Regions from separate parts of the Homo sapiens genome. Here region 2 is linked to region 1. Evidence: promoter capture Hi-C in human tissues and cell types (Jung and others, 2019). All regions are on one chromosome and are shown on one strand. The core of a region is centred on a gene start or on the middle of the fragment in contact, and the rest is flanking DNA. Distances in the headings are between cores, read along the strand shown. Region 1 holds the start of PIGM (phosphatidylinositol glycan anchor biosynthesis class M). Region 2 overlaps CFAP45 (cilia and flagella associated protein 45).

Evidence for each region. The method cuts DNA at HindIII sites, captures the fragments that hold promoters and counts their contacts. A contact is called where the count stands out against the background at its distance.
Region 2: a contact is called between a fragment that was not itself captured here and the fragment with the promoter of PIGM in region 1, in 1 of the 25 tissues and cell types used here (mesendoderm cells).

Annotation. Positions count from the first base shown.
Region 1 is chr1:160,029,499-160,034,494 of GRCh38, reverse strand. PIGM (phosphatidylinositol glycan anchor biosynthesis class M) reads left to right here and starts at 2,505. Exons shown (of 1, transcript NM_145167.3): 1 at 2,505-4,996. The coding sequence starts at 2,756. The coding sequence ends at 4,027. The HindIII fragment of the contact is 11,020 bases long and covers 1-4,996 here.
Region 2 is chr1:159,890,802-159,895,797 of GRCh38, reverse strand. CFAP45 (cilia and flagella associated protein 45) reads left to right here. Exons shown (of 12, transcript NM_012337.3): 2 at 2,493-2,618. LOC124904434 (a long non-coding RNA gene) reads right to left here. Exons shown (of 3, transcript XR_007066678.1): 2 at 3,297-3,451; 3 at 2,572-2,653. Among named protein-coding and RNA genes, the nearest start is that of MIR4259, 6.8 kb to the left of the region's middle. The HindIII fragment of the contact is 4,491 bases long and covers 1,423-4,996 here.

The DNA.
Region 1 (4,996 bases), core at 1,256-3,755:
TAACTCTTTCAGAAAGAGGTGAGAAAATACAATCCCTAAACCCAATGCAAAAAGTTCAATATGGGGTCCTCGGACCCTGTGATGTATCTCTTCCACCCAGAAATAGTAACTAAAGTTGGACCTCTCTGTCCAATTTGTTTTACAGATTCCAGTCTCTTCTTCGTTCCCACAACTGCTATCTACATCTCACTCCTTTGACTTCAGTGACATGCTTAGTTTTTTTTTTATTTTATTTTTTTATTAGTTGTTTCCTTATCTGCCTAAATTTGGTGCCTCCCATCTCTCTACTAGGACAGCCATGTAGGGACAGATTGACTGAAACCTTTCTGCTATACTACTGAAACCAATCCAGCCACAAGGACCCTTACTTAGTTAATCCTCAGACACCTACCTCCCATATTTTCTATCTTAGGGAACTAAGCCTCACTTATCTATTATTTGCAGAAGAAAAGAATAAATCAGAGGTAGAAAGAGTCACAGTGAGAGAGAATATCCAGAATATCAAGATGAGAGATCAATAAGAGAAAACATAGGAAAATTAGAATTTGTGATCAACATTTTATTGGCAAGTCAGCCACATAATGATTAAGATATTCTAGGTCAGACAGACTGGGTTTTGAGTTCTAGCACTGTCACTAGTTAGCTATGTGACTTGGGAAAATTACTTAATCTCCATAAGCCTTGGTTTTCTTCATTTGTAAAGGTGGGAATATCTACCTTACATGAAAAGTACTTAGCATAATGCCTGGTACATTGCAAATGAGTCCTCAACAAATCCAGCTATTATAAATAATAGTAATCATCATCATCATAATCATCATTATATGAGTGGTGATGTGCTGCCACTATATATATGGCTAATATACTGCAAAAAAATGGTTAGAATTATCAATCTAAGGCATGTAATGATACCAAGGCATATAAAAGGACATAGAGCTATCACAATATGAATATGGAATATATAAGATTAACACAGTTCATCTCCAAGGGATAAATTGAAGTGTAGGATGGATGAGCAGCAGGTAGTTCTGGGAGCTGCATGTTCAGACTGCATGAAGTCACCTCCTTTTCCTTATTCTAGTCTAGAAGACTTCCCCTAGGAAGCAGGCTTATTCTATAAAATCCAATTAGTCAGTATTTACTAAGCATTTACCATGTGCCTAAGACTACAATAAATTACACATAATTGAAAAAAATTAAGGATAAGATATAATTTCTACCCCCAAGAACCCTATAATCTCTTGTGAGGGCTATGAATACAATCTAAAATAAAGTATCAAATTCTACAATGCGGACTATGTAAGTGCACTAAGTAACCACGGAAAGGGAAGAGCTAATGGGTTACAGTCCTTGGCAAGAAATTCATGGAAGTAGGGTTGGAGTGGGGTGGGGGGAGCAGGGGACCTTGACATACATAAAGGATATTTAAAAGGGAAAATAACTGGGAGTTGGGAGCAATCCAAAGATGCCACTCTAGAAATATTCTGGTAGGAGGAACCTCTAAAATCAATTCAACTTTACTGAATGGCTACTAGTACTGTGTTAGATGTTGAGGTAGAGAAAAGAACAAGATAATCTCTGATACCGAAGAATTGAAAGTGTCCTGATGGAAAACTAGGAGAGCAAAACAAACAAAAACAGTTATTACAAAGCAGTGTGACAAATGCTGTAACAAAGGAATGACCAGGGAGTTCTGGAGCACTGGGAGAACTTTTAGTAGCATGGCAGGGTCTTCTGTGTGAGTGATTTTCTGGAACTTAGATCCCGTCCGCCCCAGTCTACCTATCCTCGGACAGGGGAGGGGACTGGCATCTAAGTCATTCATTCTGCGTGATGAGGAAGTGAGTGGGAGCTGGGAGCTAACACTTGCACTGATGCCTGAAGGGTTGAGTAGGTATTTGCCAGAGTGATTGGAGAGCGGATGGCAACTTTGACAGAAGAAATAGCAAATACAGAGATACTGAGGCATAAGGGGCTGACAAGTTAAGGAATTTTGTGACGCTTTCCTGTCTTCTTTCCCATCACCTTCACCTAGGGTTGCCGGATAAAATACAAGCTGCCCACTTAAATCTGAATCTCTGATTACCAACTAGTAATTTAAAAATATAAGTATGCCTCCAATATTGCATGGAACATACACACTCAGCCCCCTTCAACTCATCCTGTCCTGTCCGGGGCCCACAAATCCCCGGTGAATACCGGCGAGCTAGTGGAGTAAAGCATGAGAAGGCTTATCTTCCTTTCACTCCTACATTTTTCACTCTCGGATCTCCAGCCCAGGACTGAAGGATGTAGCGCGCAGCCCGCAGCTCGCTGCTCGTCGGAGGGTTTTCCTCTGAGGACTGGAAATGGGGCGCGGGAAGAGGGCGGGGGGCGGCGGGCTGTCACTTACAAAGAAATCTCACTCCACTCCATAAAATCCTCAAGCCAGTGCCGGATTTCCCGGCAAGCGGACGTCTCCCCTCCCACGGACCGGAAATCCCGCCTCCGCTGGAAGAAGAAGCGGAAGCGAGACCGTCCATCCAGAGGAAGGCAAGTTTTTGGCTCGGGCGGCTGAGAAGACCGCGCGGGGCTGGAGACAGGTAGCAGTACGGGGGCGGGGCTTCATGCCGGATGTGATAGTCTGCAGTCGTTTCGGTTGGCAGCCTGGCGGGTGGGAGATGCGGCGGCCACCTGCTGCAAAGAACCGAAGGGAAGGTTAGAAGTACGAAGGCAGTTTGGAGCTGGGGCTAAGCAGCTGTCGCACGGTCAGATCATGGGCTCCACCAAGCACTGGGGCGAATGGCTCCTGAACTTGAAGGTGGCTCCAGCCGGCGTCTTTGGTGTGGCCTTTCTAGCCAGAGTCGCCCTGGTTTTCTATGGCGTCTTCCAGGACCGGACCCTGCACGTGAGGTATACGGACATCGACTACCAGGTCTTCACCGACGCCGCGCGCTTCGTCACGGAGGGGCGCTCGCCTTACCTGAGAGCCACGTACCGTTACACCCCGCTGCTGGGTTGGCTCCTCACTCCCAACATCTACCTCAGCGAGCTCTTTGGAAAGTTTCTCTTCATCAGCTGCGACCTCCTCACCGCTTTCCTCTTATACCGCCTGCTGCTGCTGAAGGGGCTGGGGCGCCGCCAGGCTTGTGGCTACTGTGTCTTTTGGCTTCTTAACCCCCTGCCTATGGCAGTATCCAGCCGCGGTAATGCGGACTCTATTGTCGCCTCCCTGGTCCTGATGGTCCTCTACTTGATAAAGAAAAGACTCGTCGCGTGTGCAGCTGTATTCTATGGTTTCGCGGTGCATATGAAGATATATCCAGTGACTTACATCCTTCCCATAACCCTCCACCTGCTTCCAGATCGCGACAATGACAAAAGCCTCCGTCAATTCCGGTACACTTTCCAGGCTTGTTTGTACGAGCTCCTGAAAAGGCTGTGTAATCGGGCTGTGCTGCTGTTTGTAGCAGTTGCTGGACTCACGTTTTTTGCCCTGAGCTTTGGTTTTTACTATGAGTACGGCTGGGAATTTTTGGAACACACCTACTTTTATCACCTGACTAGGCGGGATATCCGTCACAACTTTTCTCCGTACTTCTACATGCTGTATTTGACTGCAGAGAGCAAGTGGAGTTTTTCCCTGGGAATTGCTGCATTCCTGCCACAGCTCATCTTGCTTTCAGCTGTGTCTTTCGCCTATTACAGAGACCTCGTTTTTTGTTGTTTTCTTCATACGTCCATTTTTGTGACTTTTAACAAAGTCTGCACCTCCCAGTACTTTCTTTGGTACCTCTGCTTACTGCCTCTTGTGATGCCACTAGTCAGAATGCCTTGGAAAAGAGCTGTAGTTCTCCTAATGTTATGGTTTATAGGGCAGGCCATGTGGCTGGCTCCTGCCTATGTTCTAGAGTTTCAAGGAAAGAACACCTTTCTGTTTATTTGGTTAGCTGGTTTGTTCTTTCTTCTTATCAATTGTTCCATCCTGATTCAAATTATTTCCCATTACAAAGAAGAACCCCTGACAGAGAGAATCAAATATGACTAGTGTATGTTCCACACCCTCTGCTACTGTGTTACATTCTGATTGTCTTGTATGGACCAGAAGAGAGCTTTGGGACATTTTTTCTGAACATTCTAAGCATTCTAGTGAAAGTTCCCATGTTCCAACAGAACTTAAAAGCAATGTTTGCCTTATATATAAAAGGGACACAATAATTGAGGTCCACCTTCTAGGAAATCCTAGGACTCGTTTATTTGGGACATGGTGGGAATAAAGGTCACATATTGGAAAATGGAAAGGCTGATGAAACTATCAGATACTAAAACATTCTTAAAATAGAGGAATATAGTTAGAGACATCAGGTTTAAGCCAGTATTTGTTCCTGTTTTACAATGCTTCTGTCTTAAGCTGTGTCTTAACTTTTAACACCCATCTTTTCTTTCTAAAGCTTTCCTGACAGCTGTGAAAATCCAAAAAATATTCTTAAACTGTGTATGGTGGCCCTTGCCTGTAGTCTCAGCACTTTGGGAGGCTGAGGTGGGAGGGTCGCTTGAGTTCAGGAGTTCTAGACCCACCTGGGGCAAGATGGTGAGACCTAGTCTCAAAAAAAAAAAAAAAAATTAGCCAGGTGTTGTGGTGCACCCCTGTAGTCATAGCTGCATGGGAGGCTGAGGTGGGAGAATTGCTTGAGCCCAGAGCAAGACCCTGTCTCAAAAAAAAAAAAAAAAAAAAAAAGGAAAGGACAACTTTTTAGATAGAAAAGTATTAAATAATACTAAGATGCTTAGTAGTATTATTTTAGAGAGTTTTAAACTTCTATATTAAATGTGGGGTCTTACAAGATAATCCAAAGACTTTGGGAGGCCAAGGCGGGCAGATCACGAGGTCAGGAGATTGAGACCATCCTGGCTAACACGGTGAAACCCCTCTCTACTAAAAATACAAAAAATTAGCCGGGCGTGGTGGGTGCCTGTAGTCCCAGCTACTCCTCGGGAGGCTGAGGCAGGAGAATGG
Region 2 (4,996 bases), core at 2,419-4,918, 140 kb after region 1:
AATCCCACCTACTGAAGTTTCTATTCATTTCCTCTTATTCTATTTTTGGTGGAAAGGGGAGCCGTAGCTCACCACCTACCATATAATAACCCTTCAGAGGCTGTTATTAGGCATCCTTGGGGCTGCTATATTTACCTTTTAATAAATCCAAGCTTTTCTGCTCTACAGTATTGGGGCTGGCTGACGCTGTAGAGGGAGACTCCCTGTGTAAGCCTTTTGCTGGCTGTGCCGGGCAGTGAGGGAAATGCACATATAGCATTGTTCAATGTACAGCACAGAGACAGCTGGAAAATAATTGTCCAATCGAGTGTGAAAACCTGATACAGGAGTAACAGGTGCTGGGGTGTCTGGTTGGTAATGGCAGATCAGAGAGAGCTTTCAGAACACTGTCCAGGGCTTAGGGACCTGGAAAGCATGGTATATTTCCCTGTCTACCCTGTTCCTTTATCAGCTGCTGATTCCCAGGCTTGGGGAGACCCAATGTGCCTGGCCTATTCCTTCAAGGTAGCCCAGTTTAGAGAGGTGTGGGGCATGTGGGCTCCTCCAAAGTGAGGTTTGAATCAGCTTTATCATAAGCCTGGAGTCATCCAGTAGTCCTTGTAGACACTACCTTTTAGAGATAGACGTCTACTCTTGGGACTGAGATGAAGCTGCCTGTCCTTTGGGAATGGAGGTTGTGTTCGTCAGATTCTTAGTTACAAGCAACAGAGCCAGAATTCCAATTTAAGTAAAAGAGAATGTGTTAAGAGGGTTTTGGAGAGCTCACAAATAGGAACAAAAGAAGTTTCTGCAGCTGGAACCAAGACCAAAATCAAAACCTAGAACTGGTCTGGCAAGGACCCTGATGCACTGTTGCACCCCCAAAACTGCCAATTCCTTACATAGGGTGCCGCTGCTGGTATCGTTATCAGTGTTGCCCAGACGCTGGGTCTGGCTGCCAGTTCTGTTTGGGTCAGAAAGGTTTTCCTTGTTCTGCCTTTTGGTCCACTAGTTCCCTAGTCATTGTCAGTCCAGGGCCATCTCATTGGCTAAGCCTAGGTCCCTTGGCCAGGCTGAGGTGAATATTTGATGTTTTCAGCTTCTGTAGTTGGAGAAGAGCACTATCTCCCACAACTCATTAGATGGGGAATTTGCCAAAATAGGAAGTTAGTAGGGGGTTAAAAAATGACTAAGGCACACTAAAAGGGTCTTGGGAGAGAAACAGCCAAATAGTGGGTATTATGAACTGGTTTGCTTGATTATAGCTAGTAATCATTTATCATTCACCCACTGCCTCAAGTTTATTGGGCATCAACCACATGCCAAGCAGTGGGTGAGGCACTTTTCCATCCTTTATATCCTGTGGTCCCACCATAACCTTGTAAGATTGTGGAGACACGAAGGAGGTCAAACAGTAGCGTCATTTGTGAGAAAGACTTGAAGCACAAGCTGAAAAGATTGGAGGCAAAGGGGACACTGTGCGTGTCTCAGGGGGCAAGCCCAAGTTGCCCCACAAGAGATTGTCCTCTTGGGAAACTGGTACTAGGCAGATAATGAGAAACTGTTGCTTCTCTCCTCCTGCCATTCCTGCTTCCTTTATCCTTACTTCCATACTATGTGGCCGACTTGGCCTTCAGCTTCAGGGACTACAGAAATGCTCTTAAAAAAACCCCACAAAAAACAAAACAGTTTTGTTTTTAATTGACACATAATGATTGTACACATTTATGGGGTATAGTGTGATGTTTTGATACATGTATATACATTGTGTAATGATTGAATCAGGGTAGTTAGCATATCCATTACCTCAAACACTTGTCATTTCTTTGCAGTGAGATCACTCAAAATTCTCTCTTCTAGCTAGTTTGAAATATACAATGTAAATTAATATACATTGTATACATGTATATTTATATATATTATTGTATACATGTATATTAATATACATTTATATATAGTAATATACATTATTGTTAACTCTAGTCATTCTATTGCGCTATCAAATACTAGACCTTGCCATCTCATTTAATCTTATAACATTTATATTTCTCAAAATCCTCTCCTAGATATTGTGTATCTCTTTTGAGATATACAGTACATTATTATTAACTATAGTGGCCTTTCTGTGCAATAGAGCACCAGAACTTATTCCTCCTATCTAACTGTAACTGCGCACTCACTGACCAACCTCTCCCCATGCCCCTCCCCTTCCTCTCTTCAGCCTCTGGTAACCACCATTCTACTCTGTACTTCTATGAGATCAACTGTTTTACACAAATGCTGCTTTATGCAGAGCTCTTTTTTTTGCAGAGACCCTTCCCTGCTCTGTGGGGATGCCCTCCATCTGTTGCTCCTTGTCCCCTATGGTTCAGAGTTTACACAGCCGCTTTCCCTAACTGTTTCTTTTTCACATGCCCACCCACTCCCCCAGCATGGGCTGGTGAATTGTTGACTTCCCAGGGTCTGGATGCCACTCAGTACTGATGACCCAAACTTTCTGCCTCTTCCTGCAGCCACTAAGCACAGCTGGCATCCTGAGCTCCTCTTCTGCCGCTTCCAACAGGTCAAGGAATAAGGCTCGCTATCGGACCAAAGCCGTGAGCTCTGAGGTGGATGAGAGCCTCTTTGGAGATATCAAGGTAATCCTCAACAAGTCCTTTCAAGTTGATGCCACCTGCAGGCAGAGGCCCAAAAATGTAGCTCAGGGCAAAGCTTCTGCTGAGTAACCTTGCTCTCGTAGGTAACTCTCAGACTGAAGACAAAGGGGAATTCTGAGACCTGAGCTGCAGAGCTTTGGGATCTAGTGGGGCCTATGTAAACAGGGACACCTAGCTTCTTCCACCCTAGAATCTCTCATGTCTTCACAGTGTTTAAAATCTGTTATAATGTCAAAAGGGAGGCTCAGCTGCAGAGAGTGCAATAGTTGCTCAGTTGAGCTCCATGATGGAAACATTGCAGGGCTGATGGGCTAAGCTTGCAGACAATAGCAACATCTTCCCCGCTCCATCCAAGGATAATAGCATCAGAGTACAACACAAAACCATCCTCCTTTCCCAGTTGCTCAACTAAAACAATTACTTAGCTTTGGGAAACGAGCAGGTCTTTATTTGCAAGTGTTATCTAGACCAAGAGGTGGACAACTCCTTTAGTCTAGATAAAGAGAGCTAGATAGTAGAGCTTTGACTGATTTTGGTACATATGGAGTTTAGTAGGTAAGAAGGAAGAGAGGGAAGGAGAAAAAGAGAATATGACATGGAGAGAAGGGCAGTGAGAGATTAAGAGAAGGGGAAAAGAGAAAGAGAGACACTAGTAGTGACCTGAATGCCTCTGCCAGTGGGGAAGGTGGGGAGAGGAGTGTTGATGTCTGTCCCTGCTCTTCAACATCTTCATTGTGAATTGAAGAGGACTCTCCAGAGGGATTGAGATAGGCTTCTTAATCCATTTAGAAGACTCTCACTCTGCAGCAGTTTTCCTGTTGGTAAGGGAAAGGATCAACAGATGCATTTATTTTTTATTATTTTTTTAAAGATAGGGTTTCACTCCTGTCACCCAGGCTGGAGCTGGAGTGCAATGGTACAGTCTCGGCTCACTGCCACCTCCACTTCCCAGGCTCAAGTGATTCTCCTGCCTCAGCCTCCCAAGTAGCTGGGACTACAGGTGCACACCACTGCACCTGGCTAATTTTTGTATTTTTTGTAAAGACAGGGTTTCATCATGTTCCCCATGCTGGTCTTGAACTCCTAAGCTCAAGCAATCTGCCCACCTCGACCTCCCAAAGTGCTGGGATTACAGGCGTAAGTCTCCCCACCTGGCCAAAATGCAATTTCACTTACAGACATTTGTATTGTTGTTGTTGTTTTGGGTACATGTGGAGTTTTCTAGTCAAAGCAAAGAGAGATTTGGAATTGGCTGAGTTCTCCAGGAGTAGTCATGCTGGCTGGCAAAAGGGGGCTATCAGAAAAATGCTTGTCTCTTGTCCAGTTTCTTTGGCCTCATTGATGGGTAAGAGTTCAGGAAGTCTCTCAATGGGCAGTAGAGGGCAGAAGTGGCCTGTGGCACGACTGAGTTGTGCCCACGTGAAAGCAGAGATGGGCACCAGGTGGCAGCAGCACACAGGGGACTGTGGGTGCAAAGTGAGGTAGGACAAGTGGGGCCATCCCCCTGCCTCTGGTCAGGAGCACAGTGGCTGCATTAATGACACATCCTTTCCTGTGTTTAGACATTTTCTGAAACAGGTGATTTCATTTAATTGTTATCTAACTCCTTCAGGGTCGGAGAATTTTGAAAAAAAGAAAAAATCACACAGTTAGTCTGTGTTCTTGCTGAATTCTAACTCACTGACCTCCTCACCACCAACTCAATGAGCTGGCAGAGAGCTACCCTTAGATCTTAAGGGTAGGCCTCTGCAGGTCATTTAGCGATTTCTAACTCCCTGAATATGGCTTTTTGTGGGGGTTAAAGTAATTTAATCGTAAGAAAGAATTTAAAATTACCAATATCAAAGATTGTAAGAGTCTGTAACAAATTATATTGCTTCAAACCCACTGTGTGGTCCTAGAGAGATAATTATTTCTTCTTTCATAAAGGAAAATCTTTCATGGAGAGAGGAAAACCTAGAGAACAGAAATTTACTTTAATTCCTGATGATTTTAGACTAAGTATAGACACACACTAGTGACCCCCACTCCTTGTTATCCCTACCATTCTGCGAGGAATATCTGTATAAGAACAAGAGACTTGTTTTCAGAAAAGCTGGTCAGGGCTGGGCATGGTGGCTCACGCCTGTAATCCCAGCACTTTGGGAGGCCCAGGCGGGCGGATCATCTGAGGTCAGGAGATTGAGACCAGCCTGGCCAACATGGAGAAACCCCGACTCTACTAAAAATACAAAAATTAGCCAGGCATGGTGGTGGTCGCCTGTAATCCCAGCTACTCAGGAGGCTGAGGGAGGAGAATTGCTTGAACCCGGGAGGTGGCGGTTGTAGTGAGCCAAGATCGTGCCACTGCACTCCAGCCT